Regions from separate parts of the Homo sapiens genome. Here all the other regions are linked to region 4. Evidence: promoter capture Hi-C in human tissues and cell types (Jung and others, 2019). All regions are on one chromosome and are shown on one strand. The core of a region is centred on a gene start or on the middle of the fragment in contact, and the rest is flanking DNA. Distances in the headings are between cores, read along the strand shown. Region 1 holds the start of FOSB (FosB proto-oncogene, AP-1 transcription factor subunit). Region 2 holds the start of ERCC2 (ERCC excision repair 2, TFIIH core complex helicase subunit). Region 3 holds the start of RSPH6A (radial spoke head 6 homolog A). Region 4 holds the start of GPR4 (G protein-coupled receptor 4).

Region 1 (2,700 bases), core at 73-2,572, 130 kb after region 4:
GGGGCGGGGCGGACGAAGGGGGCGCCGCGCGCCGTGCGTGCCCCGCGTCAGACGGAGGATTCCAGCGCGTCAGCCGTTACGCACGGGTCCCCCGTTACGTCTCCGCGCAGGAGGCGGAGGCAGCGCGGCTGAGGGTTCGAGGCCCCTCTTCCCGATGGGTGGAGGGCGACCCGGCACCGAAGTGGGCGCTCCGAAGGAGGAGGAAAGGAAAAGAGACTGCTGGAAGCTTCCCCGGGATTTCCCCCACCTGCCTAACTGCGCTAGCTTCAGGTCTGGGACCCGAGCAGGGGGCAGTCCCGGGGCCGGCTCAAAGTTCTCAGCCCCGCTACCGCATACACGTTGCATTGAGCAGCGCATTACCCACCCCACCCCCACCTCGCCCCAAAGCCTACCCTCCCTGCCGCGTTCCCTCCTTGCGCTCCACGCACGCAACCAATTGCAAACATCTCCCGACTCTTTGCAGTTTGCAAAGTGCGCTGTGAGCCTTTTCCATCTCAGATCTAGGGTTCTGATGCGCCTTTTTGTGGGGGTTGGGGTTTATTCTTTTCACCCTTGACTTAAAAAATAAAACCTACAAAGCAGCACCCCTACTATCAAAAACTTACCTGGGAGGCGGCGGCGGTGGGTGGACTGCCGAAGGAGTCCACCGAAGACAGATATTGAGACTCGGCAGAGGGTGAGGAGCTGCACCGGGAGCCGGAGTCGTAGTCTCCGGGGAAAGCCTGAAACATTTCCCTGGGCACAGGGGGGCCCCTGTGACCACGCTGAGGTCGCCGGGAAGCCAAGGCTATGGCCGGGTTGGGGAAGTAAGGTGCAAGTCCGGGGTGAGCCGTGGGAGTCCCCGGTGAGCTGAGCGAGTCCTCAAAGTACGCTGTCCGGGGAAGCTCGGGGAAGGAGCAACGTCCCGTTCCAACAATGGCAAAGTTTCTGTGCAGTCTTCCTGCGGTGCCCAGGCCCCCACAGGATGCCGCTGTACCTCTTGAAAGTGCAGGCTCCGTAGGACCCAGGGGCGAGGGAGGGGTTGCTCCCCCAGGGGCAGAAAGCGCTGTCCCGCTGTACAGAATCAGCTTCAGCTACGGTCTCCTCCACGCGTCCGGCGGGTCCCACGGGGGGAGGGGAGTAATAAAGAAGACCAAAAAAAGTAAGTCGGTCCTCCAAAAGAAAATGAAGAAATATCTGGAAGAATCTTTCCAAAAACTTTCTCCCCGGAAAAAAAAAGATTAATGAAATTTCATAACCCCCAAGAAGAACCACAACAATCAAGTTTCCAAGTCTTGGTTCCGCGTGTCCCTGCCGTGGCCGTAGCTCTGAGTCTTATGAATGAAGCACAGACCCGCCAGCCTGTATTTATATGCCCGGGACCCGCCCCCCTGCTTACGTCACCCGCCCCTTGCTGGACAAACTTCCCCAAATCTCCGGCCCCGCCAAATCGAGTCCCGCACTGTCCAGCAAGAGGTCTGTTCTAGACTCGATCTGGTCACTTGCATGACCCTCGGGGCCCTGGGGGTCTCGGGGGTTGCGTTCCGGGCCACTCGGCGGGAGGGGATCCCGGCCCCGCCTTCCCGGAGTTCCTGTGACGCAATTAGCCATATAAGGAGCTCGGCCGGCGCGGCGGAGTGTTTGTTTGGTATCCTAGCAATGACGTCAGAGGGAATCCCTCGCTCGCTCGCGCGCGCGCCCGCGCCCCGCCCGCGCCTGCGCAGTGCAACGCCGCCCCGGGGGCTGGTAATAATAGGCGCTTAGACTAGCCCCGCAGGGACCCCGCTGACCCGGGCGGGGAAGACCCCAGCCTGCAGGTCCCCTTCACCTCTGGCGCCCCCACCTACCCTGTTCTACCGATGGTGCAGCGCCCCCATTCGAGAAGAAGAGCAGATCTCCAAAAGGAGACCCTGATTAGTGTGGTGTGGTCACGTAGGTGGGGAAACTGAGTCCCGAGCGGGCTGTGATGCTCAGGTGAAAGTGGAGGTAATGGAGGGATTCCGAGGCTCGTCCTGGTTTCTGTCCTGATTCGCTGTGCGAGCTTAGGAAATGTTTTCCCTCTCTGAGCTTTAGCTTTAATCTTCCCCGCTGGGCAAAGGATGTGTGTCTTGGACCCTGCTGGCCTTACAGGTCCGGCGTTTGGGAGGGATGCGGATTTGGAGGAGATGGGAAATGAAACTTAGAGAGAAGCCTCTCTTCTGATGGTGTTGGTAGCCTCTCCTTCCACCTTTTAATCCACCCGGAGACAAAGAATGTGTAAGAGGGAGGGGATATTATTATTAATTCTAATAATAATAATTAATGCCTTGTATTTGGCACTTGCCAAGCACAGCTCCTGTGCTACGCCTTTCAGTAGAAGATTTGTAATCCTTAAAACAGCTCTGGAAGGTTAAGAGAGAAAAATCTTCATTTTATAAAAGAAAAAAATGATACTCAGGGAGGTTAAATGACTTGCCCAAGATCCCATCACAAGAAATTCAAACTCAGAATTGTCAAACTCCAGATTTCCTACCCTTTCCATTTCTTTTCTGATTTCTGAGACCTGCCTGGTTGGATGAAACTCCCTGAAAAACCTGTGTCTGGGGTTTTTTTAAATGATAATGGCAATATTAGTAGCTTTCACTTGTCAGGTCTTTTTTTTTTTTTTTTTTTTTTTTTTTTTGAGACGGAGTCTTGCTCTGCCGCCAGGCTGGAGTGCAGTGGCGATCTCGGCTCACTGCA
Region 2 (2,700 bases), core at 201-2,700, 230 kb after region 4:
TCCCACCTCAGCCTCCTGAGTATCTGGGACTACAGGTGCACGCCACCACGCCCAGCTAATTTTTGCATTTTTTGTAGAGACGGGTTTTCACCATGTTGCCCAGGCTGGTCTCTAGCTCCTGAGCTCAAGCAATGTACTCGCCTTGGCCTTCCAAAGTGTTGGAACCACAGGCACGAGCCACCACTCCAGGCTGTAATCATATATTCATTTGTATATTTAATATCTGTTCTTTGAGGCCAGGCCTGGTGCCTCACCCCTGTAATCCCAACAATTTGAAAGGCTGAGGGGAGAGGATCACTTGAACCTGCGAGTTTAACCAGCCTGGGCAACGTGGTGAGACCTCGTCTCTAAAAAAATTTAAAAAATAAAACTTAGCTGGGCTTGGTGGTGCACACCTGTGGTCCCAGCTACTCTGGAAGCTGAGGTGGGAGGATCGCTTGAGCCCAAGAGGTGGAGGCTGCAGTGAGCTGTGACTGTGCCACTGCACTCCAGCCTTGGCGACAGAGAAAGACCCTGTCTCAAGGAAAAAAATCTGTTCTTTGAGGGCAGGTGCTGAGGCTGTCATGGTCACCTTTCTGTTCCCAGGGGCCAGCACAGGATCAGACACATGGTAGATGCCACATAGCTATTTGTTGAAGAAACAAACAAAAGCTAGCATTTATGTTTTATTTATTAGTTATTATTATTAATATTTGAAATGGAGTTTCGCTTTTGTTGCCCAGGCTAGAGTGCGACGGCGCCATCTCTGCTCACTGCAACCTCTGCCTCCCAGGTTCAAGCAATTCTCCTGCTTCAGCCTCCCGAGTAGCTGGGATTACAAGCATTTGCCAGCACGCCCGGCTAATTTTGTATCTTTAGTAGAGACAGGTTTTCTCCATGTTGGTCAGGCTGGTCTTGAACTCCCGACCTCAGGTGATCCACCTGCCTCAGCCTCCCAAAGTGCTGGGATTACAGGCTTGAGCCACCGCGCCCGGCCTGCAAAGCCATTTCTAACTCTTGGGCCCAGAAAGGATCACCAATTTCCCTGTCATTCTCCGTTAGACTATTCGCTACTGAGACGATTTTTTTTTTTTTTTGAGACGAGGTGGAGGGGCGGGGGTTCTCGCTATCTTGCTCAAGCTGATCTCGAACTCCTGGGTTCGATCAATACTCAGACAATCTTGGCAGGCGCAGGAGGACCAAATTCTAGTGAATGAGATCGAGTCTCTCGGCTCTTTCCCTTCCATGTTTTCTTTTTGATTGGCCCTCGACGATCCTCAGTGACGCCTCCCGCACCGCCTCACCCGAGAGTCAGCCGCCCTCGCTTTTCCGTGCGCACGCGCAGTATCCCGATTGGCTCTGCCCTAGCGGATTGACGGGCAGGTTAGCCAATGGTCTCGTAATATAGGTGGAGCGAGCCCTCGAGGATGTCCACGACCCGGCCTCTCGCTGAATATTCATGAGGGAGGCGGGTCGACCCCGCTGCACAGTCCGGCCGGCGCCATGAAGTGAGAAGGGGGCTGGGGGTCGCGCTCGCTAGCGGGCGCGGGGGGTCTTGAAGATGGGGTCATCGGTGGGCGCGCCTGGGTCCCCAAGGGGGCGAGGGGAGGGTGAAGGGGTGGGACGGGGGCAGCCGCAGGGAGCAGCAGTGATAGCGAGGAGACACTGAGGGGGCCCCGAGGCTCCTGAGGACCTGAGGGTTACCGGGGGCGCCGGGCCCGTCACCCTTCTCTGGGCTCGACGACCGGGCACTGTGGAGGCGGGAGAGGGGCTGAGGGGACGGGAACTGACCCAGCAGCCCCTGCCGCCAGGCTCAACGTGGACGGGCTCCTGGTCTACTTCCCGTACGACTACATCTACCCCGAGCAGTTCTCCTACATGCGGGAGCTCAAACGCACGCTGGACGCCAAGGTGGGTGGCCGGTGGGCCCGACCCGCCCACTCGACCGGTGGGGCTGCCACGCCTGGGCCTAAGACAGATTGCAGGACGTCTGGATTTTAGAAGTCCGAGGTCCCTGGGAATCCAGGACCCCATAATCTTCCGTTATCTAAAACAATAATGGTGAATAGGCTGGGCGCGGTGGCTCGCGCCTGTAATCCCAGAGCTTTGGGAGGACGAGGCGGGCGGATCACTTGAGGTCAGGAGTTGGAGACCAGCCTGGCCAACACGGTGAAACCCCGTCTGTACTAAAAATACAAAAATTAGCCAGGTGTGGTGGCGGGCGCCTGTAATCCCACCTACTCGGGAGGCTGAGGCAGGAGGATCGCTTGAGGCCAGGAGTTGGAGGCTGCAGTGAGCCATGATTGTGCCACTGCATTCCAGCCTGGGCAATAGTGACACTTGTCTCTTAAAAAAGAAGGGAGAAAAGTTCACTATATATCAGCTACTGTGCCAAATATTTAACCTGCAATTTCTCACAATCCTCATAGTCATGTTATGAGGAAGGTTTTATTATTAGGCCCATTTTATTTTATTTATTTATTTTTGAGATTGAATTACAGGTGCGCGCCACCACATCTGGCTAATTTTTTGTATTTTTAGTAGAGACGGGGTTTCACCTTGTTGGCCCAGCTGGTCTTGAACTTCTGACCTCAGGTGGTTCACCTGCCTCAGCCTCCCAAAGTGCTGGGATTACAGGTGTGAGCCACCACGCCTGGCTTTAGGCTCATTTTAGAGATAGGGATACTGAGGTCTGGGGAGGTGAAGGTACTTGCCTAAGAC
Region 3 (2,700 bases), core at 5-2,504, 210 kb before region 4:
ACTCCATCATGACCATCTTGGAGGCCAGCGGCAAGCAGGAGCCAGAGGCCAAGGAGGCGCCTGCGGGGCCCTTGGAGGAGGTGAGGGCCCTGCAGCCCACCCATCTGGATCCCCAGACTCCCACCCCCTACCCCAAGCCAGCAAGGCTCACCATGGCCTCCTCCTGACCCCGAGAGACTCAGGCCACCCCTGCCTCTGGGCCACCCGTCTCCCAGGGGATGCTCCTGCTGGGAGTTGGGGGTCTGGGGGACAACTGCCCCTTCCTCCCCATGCTCTTGGTGAAGAACTCAAAGACCACCTCAGGGTGGTTCCTTCTCTTTCCGGCCGTCCTCTGAGCCACCCACCTCTGAGCTTCTGTGTGGCCCTCCCTATCCCCAGGATGATCTGGAGCCCCTGACCTTGGCCCCGGCCCCAGCACCCCGGCCCCCTCAGGACCTCATCGGCCTGCGACTGGCCCAGGAGAAGGCCTTAAAGCGGCAGCTGGAGGAGGAACAGAAGCTGAAGCCGGGAGGAGTGGGAGCCCCCTCCTCTTCCTCCCCCTCTCCCTCTCCGTCGGCCCGGCCAGGCCCGCCCCCGTCTGAGGAAGCCATGGATTTCCGGGAGGAGGGGCCTGAGTGCGAGACCCCGGGCATCTTCATCAGCATGGATGACGACTCGGGGCTGACCGAGGCCGCGCTGTTGGACTCTAGTCTCGAGGGCCCCCTACCCAAGGTAGGGAGAGCAGCCTCCGCTGCGAAGGAAGAAGCCGGATCTGGGCCGGGGTGAAGGTGGGGGAGGAGGGGCCATCAGGGGGCAGGGCCTGAAGGGGAGCGTGGAGGTGACCGCGCCCTCCACCCGGCTGCCCTTTCCTTCCCCGGTCACCAGGAGACGGCAGCGGGCGGGCTGACCTTGAAGGAGGAGCGGAGCCCCCAGACCCTCGCACCTGTTGGAGAAGATGCTATGAAGACTCCCAGCCCGGCTGCCGAGGACGCCAGGGAACCCGAGGCCAAGGGGAACAGCTGACGGGGCTCGAGGGGGAAAGGGGGTGGGACAGGGACTCGGGGCTGGGGGACGGGGCGGGGCTTGACCTGCGGGTGCTTTGCCTTAAAAAGAAATAAAAGATGTGAACTTGGGCAAGTTACTGAAAAGAAAAAAAAAAAGGGATGGCGGGCCTGGGGCGCGGGTGCCGTCTCGAGTCTGGCGCGACGTCCACCGTGGGGCTGCGCGGGATCGGGAGTGCGCGCCCAGAGCCTGCGCGGAACCCACCCTGGCCCGCTCCCCGCGCCCTCCACGGGTAACGGCCCCCTCTCTCGGTGCTCAGAAACCGGCGGTGTCGACAGGTGGCTCTCGCTTGGCCTCCTTGTCTGCAAGCCTTTCTCCTAGAGATCTGTGCCTCCTGGCGAACCATGGGAGACCTGCCGCCCTACCCTGAGCGCCCTGCCCAGCAGCCTCCGGGCCGGAGGACTTCTCAGGCCTCCCAGAGGCGGCACAGTCGGGACCAAGCTCAGGCCCTGGCAGCGGACCCCGAGGAGAGGCAGCAGATACCTCCAGACGCCCAGCGAAACGCCCCTGGTTGGTCACAGAGGGGCAGCCTGTCCCAACAGGAGAACTTGCTGATGCCCCAGGTCTTCCAGGCTGAGGAAGCCCGGCTGGGTGGCATGGAGTACCCATCTGTGAACACGGGCTTTCCCTCAGAGTTCCAGCCTCAGCCTTACTCTGATGAAAGCAGGATGCAGGTCGCCGAGCTCACCACCAGCCTAATGCTGCAGCGGCTCCAGCAGGGCCAAAGCAGCCTGTTCCAGCAACTGGACCCCACCTTCCAGGAGCCCCCAGTCAACCCCTTGGGCCAGTTCAACCTCTACCAGACAGACCAGTTCTCTGAAGGTGCCCAGCACGGGCCTTACATAAGGGATGACCCTGCCCTTCAGTTCTTGCCCTCTGAGCTGGGCTTCCCACACTACAGTGCCCAGGTGCCTGAGCCCGAGCCTCTGGAGCTGGCCGTGCAGAACGCCAAGGCCTACCTGCTGCAGACCAGCATCAATTGCGACCTCAGCCTGTGAGCAGGGGCTAGGAGTGGGGCGGGTGGGGGACCCAGGCAGGGAGGGGCCCCACCCGAAGTGCCTGCCTCAGTCAGTCAGACAAGGGATCATCCCTCATGGAAAACCAGTGACTCTAATTCAGCTGAGTCGGAATCAATGCCAACAACAGCTAGCATTCACTTCCCAGACATGTGCTGGCACTGCACACACTCACCTAATTCTCACCGGAGATGAGCACATCAGCTCATCCTACTTTACAGAGGAGGAGACCGAGACACAGAGAAGTTGGGTCGCTTACCCAAAACTACACAGCTAGGATATGGCAGAGTCAGGATTCCAGAACACGTGATTTGGCTCCCCAAGCCCTCTTGCTTTTTTTTTCCCCCAGACATAGTCTCACCCTGTCACCCAGGCTGGAGCACAGTGGCGTGGTCTTGGCTTAGGGCAACCTCTCCTTCCCAAGTTCAAGTGATTCTTCTGCTTCAGCCTCCCGAGTAGTTGGGGTTACAGGCGCGCTCCACTTCACCCAGCTAATTTTTGTATTTTTAGTAGAGGCAAGATTTCACCATGTTGCCCAGGCTAGTCTCAAACTCGACCTCAAGTGATCCGCCCATCTCAGCCTCCCAAAGTGCTAGGATTGCAGGCATGAACCACCGTGCCCAGCCCTCCTGAGACCCTCTTA
Region 4 (2,700 bases), core at 95-2,594:
TAGTAGGAAGGCAGACAACTAGAAAAAAATAAGAGAATGTTGCCTTCCCCAAAGGGTAGGGGAAAAGTGAGGCAGAGAAAGATGGGGAGTGTTGGGGTCTGGTTGGCATATTTTACAGACTTGATAGCATTGACACCATTAAATGAGACCGCCAGGAGAAAAGGACCATGATGGCCGGCCTCGGTGGCTCAGGCTTATAATCCCAGCACTTTGGGAGGCCAAAGCAGAAGGATGGCTTGAGCCCAGGAGTTTGAGACCAGCCTAGACAACATAGTGAGACCCCTGTCTATAGAAAAAAAAAATTTTTTAAATTGGCCAGGTGTGGTGGCACACGCCTGTAGTCCCAGCAACTCAGGAGGCTGAGGTGGGAGGATCACTTGAGCCTGGAAGGTTGAGGCCGCAGGGAGCCATGATCGTGCCACTGAACTCCAGACTGGGCAAGAGAGTGAAAACCTGTCTCAAAAAAAGAAAAAAGGTGGGGCACGGTGGCTCACGCCTGTAATCCCAACACTTTTTGGAGGCCGAGGTGGGCAGATAGCTGGAGCTTAGGAGTTCGAGACCAGCCTGGCCAACTTGGTGAAACCCCGTCTCTATTAAAAATACAAAAATTAGCCGGGCGTGGTGGTGTGTGCCTGTAATCCCAGCTACTCGGGAGGCTGAGGCAGGAGAATCGCTTGAACCTGGAAGGCAGAGATTGCAGTGAGCCAAGATTGTGCCACTGCACTCCAGTCTGGGCAACAGAGCATGACTCTGTCTCGAAAGAAAAGAAAGAAAAAAGCAAAGCAAAGCAAAGCAAAGAAAAGAAGGAAGCAAGCAGGCACCATGAGTGACCACCTTGATTCAAAGAGGAAACTGAGGCACGGAGATGTCACTAGCCTAAGGTCTGACCAAGAGTCAGGCTGGAAATGCAACCCCAGAGCTCCTTCTAGGGGTGGCCCTGACTTTGGAGTTGGGGACCTAACAGAACCCTTTATTCTCTCCGTTGTTGGGGAGGAAGATGCAGAAGGTTAATGACCAGAGGATGAATGACTGAAGCCTGGGGTCTCTAAGGGAGGAAATGGCTTAACCCAGGGAAGGTCAGTAGCGGGGGCCTCCTCTTCCCATAGCCGAGGACCTGATAAATTTGGGGGTGTGTGGTTGGAGAGAGGGGACCTTCCAGCTGGGGACTTGGAAGGATTCGGGGGTGTTCCAGTAGCAGATGAGCCTCACCCGTGGCTGGAGGCGTTTAATGGGGTGAAGCCTGAAAGGGGTTAAGGGGCAGCGGCAAAGGTGGGGTTAATGGGGGCGGGCCTGGCCGGGGCGGGGCCTCGGCTGGCGGCTCTGGCCCGGGGGCCGGGAGGAGTAGCCGCTGTTCTGCCCCGCGGGGGCATCCGCTGGGTCCCCGCGCCGTTGTCAAGACCGGGGACCTGGACGCAGCGGAGAGAGGTGCCGCCGCCCGCCCCGTCCAGTCGCCGCGCGCAGGTAAGTGCCGGGTCCTCCCCGGCTGCCCGCGATGCTGCGGGGTCTCACTAGGTTGCCCTGCTCGTGGCGAGACCGCTCCTCCCCGCCCCCTCGGGGGCTGCCTCAGTCTCCCGCGCCGTCTCGGTGCCCGCCCCCTCTGTTGCTCTCCCTGGCTTTGCGTCTGTCTCCAACTCCCGCCTGATGTCTCTGTGTCTGTGGTCCCTCTGCCTCTGGACGTGTCTTTCCTTCTGTGTCTCTGGATGTCTCTGTCTTTTTCTTGATCTCTGCCTCTCTGTCTCCGTCTGTCTGTCTCTGTCTCTCTGTTTCTGGGTCCCACCTCCCTCTGCCCCTGCCTCTGCCTCACCCCCGTCTGTTGTGGGACCTCTGCGGATGTCTCTGACTCTATCTCCATCTCTCCCTGTCTCTGTGTATCTCTTTGCTCTCTCCCTTCCTGTCTCTTCATCTCTATTGCCCTGTCTCTTTCTCTCCGTCTCTTATAACACTGTTTTGGCACCTTCAGCTCTGTCTTCTCTCCTTCCAAATCCTCCGCATCCCGGAACTTTCCTCTGGGCTGGGAACCTGCTTGGGAGTGGGGTAGGGGGCAGGAGGCTTGTGACCTGGGGCAGGCGGACTCTAAGTGACACCATGATCCCAGCGCCCCCTTCACGGAGCCACCCCACTGCCCCTCAGGTCGCACCCAGCCCGCCCGCCAATTTCAGGAATTCCTGCCTGGGGGGTGGACTTCCTCCCCTACTTCCTCTCTTCCAGGATTTGGCTGGGTCACCATTAACTCTTTCCTGCTTCCGCCTCACTCTCCCCCCTGGAACTGGACAACCCCTCCTCCCAAACTAGGCTGAGGAATAGCTCTAGGATATCTGTGAGGCATCGGTTGTGGGATGTGTGTGTGTGCGTACTCAGGCTGGATATGCATTGGGGAATTTGTTTGGCGCAGAAGTGGAGAGGATGGGGCCACACCCCCCAGTTCCCCCTCCAGAGCCCACCATCAGCCCCCCTCCTCCTGAGCCCACCAAGGGGGTATCCGCCCCCACCTCTGTCTTTGTAGATGAACTTGACTTCAGGTTTGGGGTGAGGATGAGGAGGTTTTCTTTTCTGGGGGAATCCCAGCTGAAGAGGATGAAAGACCCATAGGGGCTCCTGGAACCCTGGGAATCCTATGATCAAGTACCTTGAATGTGAACATCTTTGAATGGAAGGGCCCAGATGGAAGAAGCATTGGAGGGGAGGCCTGGGAATTCCAGA

Evidence for each region. The method cuts DNA at HindIII sites, captures the fragments that hold promoters and counts their contacts. A contact is called where the count stands out against the background at its distance.
Region 1: the fragment with the promoter of FOSB here is called in contact with the fragment with the promoter of GPR4 in region 4 in 2 of the 25 tissues and cell types used here (dorsolateral prefrontal cortex and lymphoblastoid cells).
Region 2: a contact is called between the fragment with the promoter of ERCC2 here and the fragment with the promoter of GPR4 in region 4, in 2 of the 25 tissues and cell types used here (adrenal gland and spleen).
Region 3: a contact is called between the fragment with the promoter of RSPH6A here and the fragment with the promoter of GPR4 in region 4, in 1 of the 25 tissues and cell types used here (dorsolateral prefrontal cortex).

What each region holds. Positions count from the first base shown.
Region 1 is chr19:45,466,618-45,469,317 of GRCh38, reverse strand. FOSB (FosB proto-oncogene, AP-1 transcription factor subunit) reads right to left here and starts at 1,322. Exons shown (of 4, transcript NM_006732.3): 1 at 606-1,322. The coding sequence starts at 731. RefSeq lists an enhancer at 320-1,221 and a silencer at 1,406-1,685. The HindIII fragment of the contact is 8,650 bases long and covers 1-2,700 here.
Region 2 is chr19:45,369,323-45,372,022 of GRCh38, reverse strand. ERCC2 (ERCC excision repair 2, TFIIH core complex helicase subunit) reads left to right here and starts at 1,450. Exons shown (of 23, transcript NM_000400.4): 1 at 1,450-1,487; 2 at 1,791-1,890. The coding sequence starts at 1,483. RefSeq lists enhancers at 1,157-1,236, 1,855-2,696. The HindIII fragment of the contact is 25,658 bases long and covers 1-2,700 here.
Region 3 is chr19:45,813,862-45,816,561 of GRCh38, reverse strand. RSPH6A (radial spoke head 6 homolog A) reads left to right here and starts at 1,254. Exons shown (of 6, transcript NM_030785.4): 1 at 1,254-2,035. The coding sequence starts at 1,386. It overlaps SYMPK (symplekin scaffold protein), which reads left to right. Exons shown (of 27, transcript NM_004819.3): 25 at 1-80; 26 at 379-711; 27 at 865-1,152. The coding sequence ends at 1,002. The HindIII fragment of the contact is 35,300 bases long and covers 1-2,700 here.
Region 4 is chr19:45,600,856-45,603,555 of GRCh38, reverse strand. It overlaps GPR4 (G protein-coupled receptor 4), which reads left to right and starts at 1,344. Exons shown (of 2, transcript NM_005282.3): 1 at 1,344-1,461. The HindIII fragment of the contact is 53,447 bases long and covers 1-2,700 here.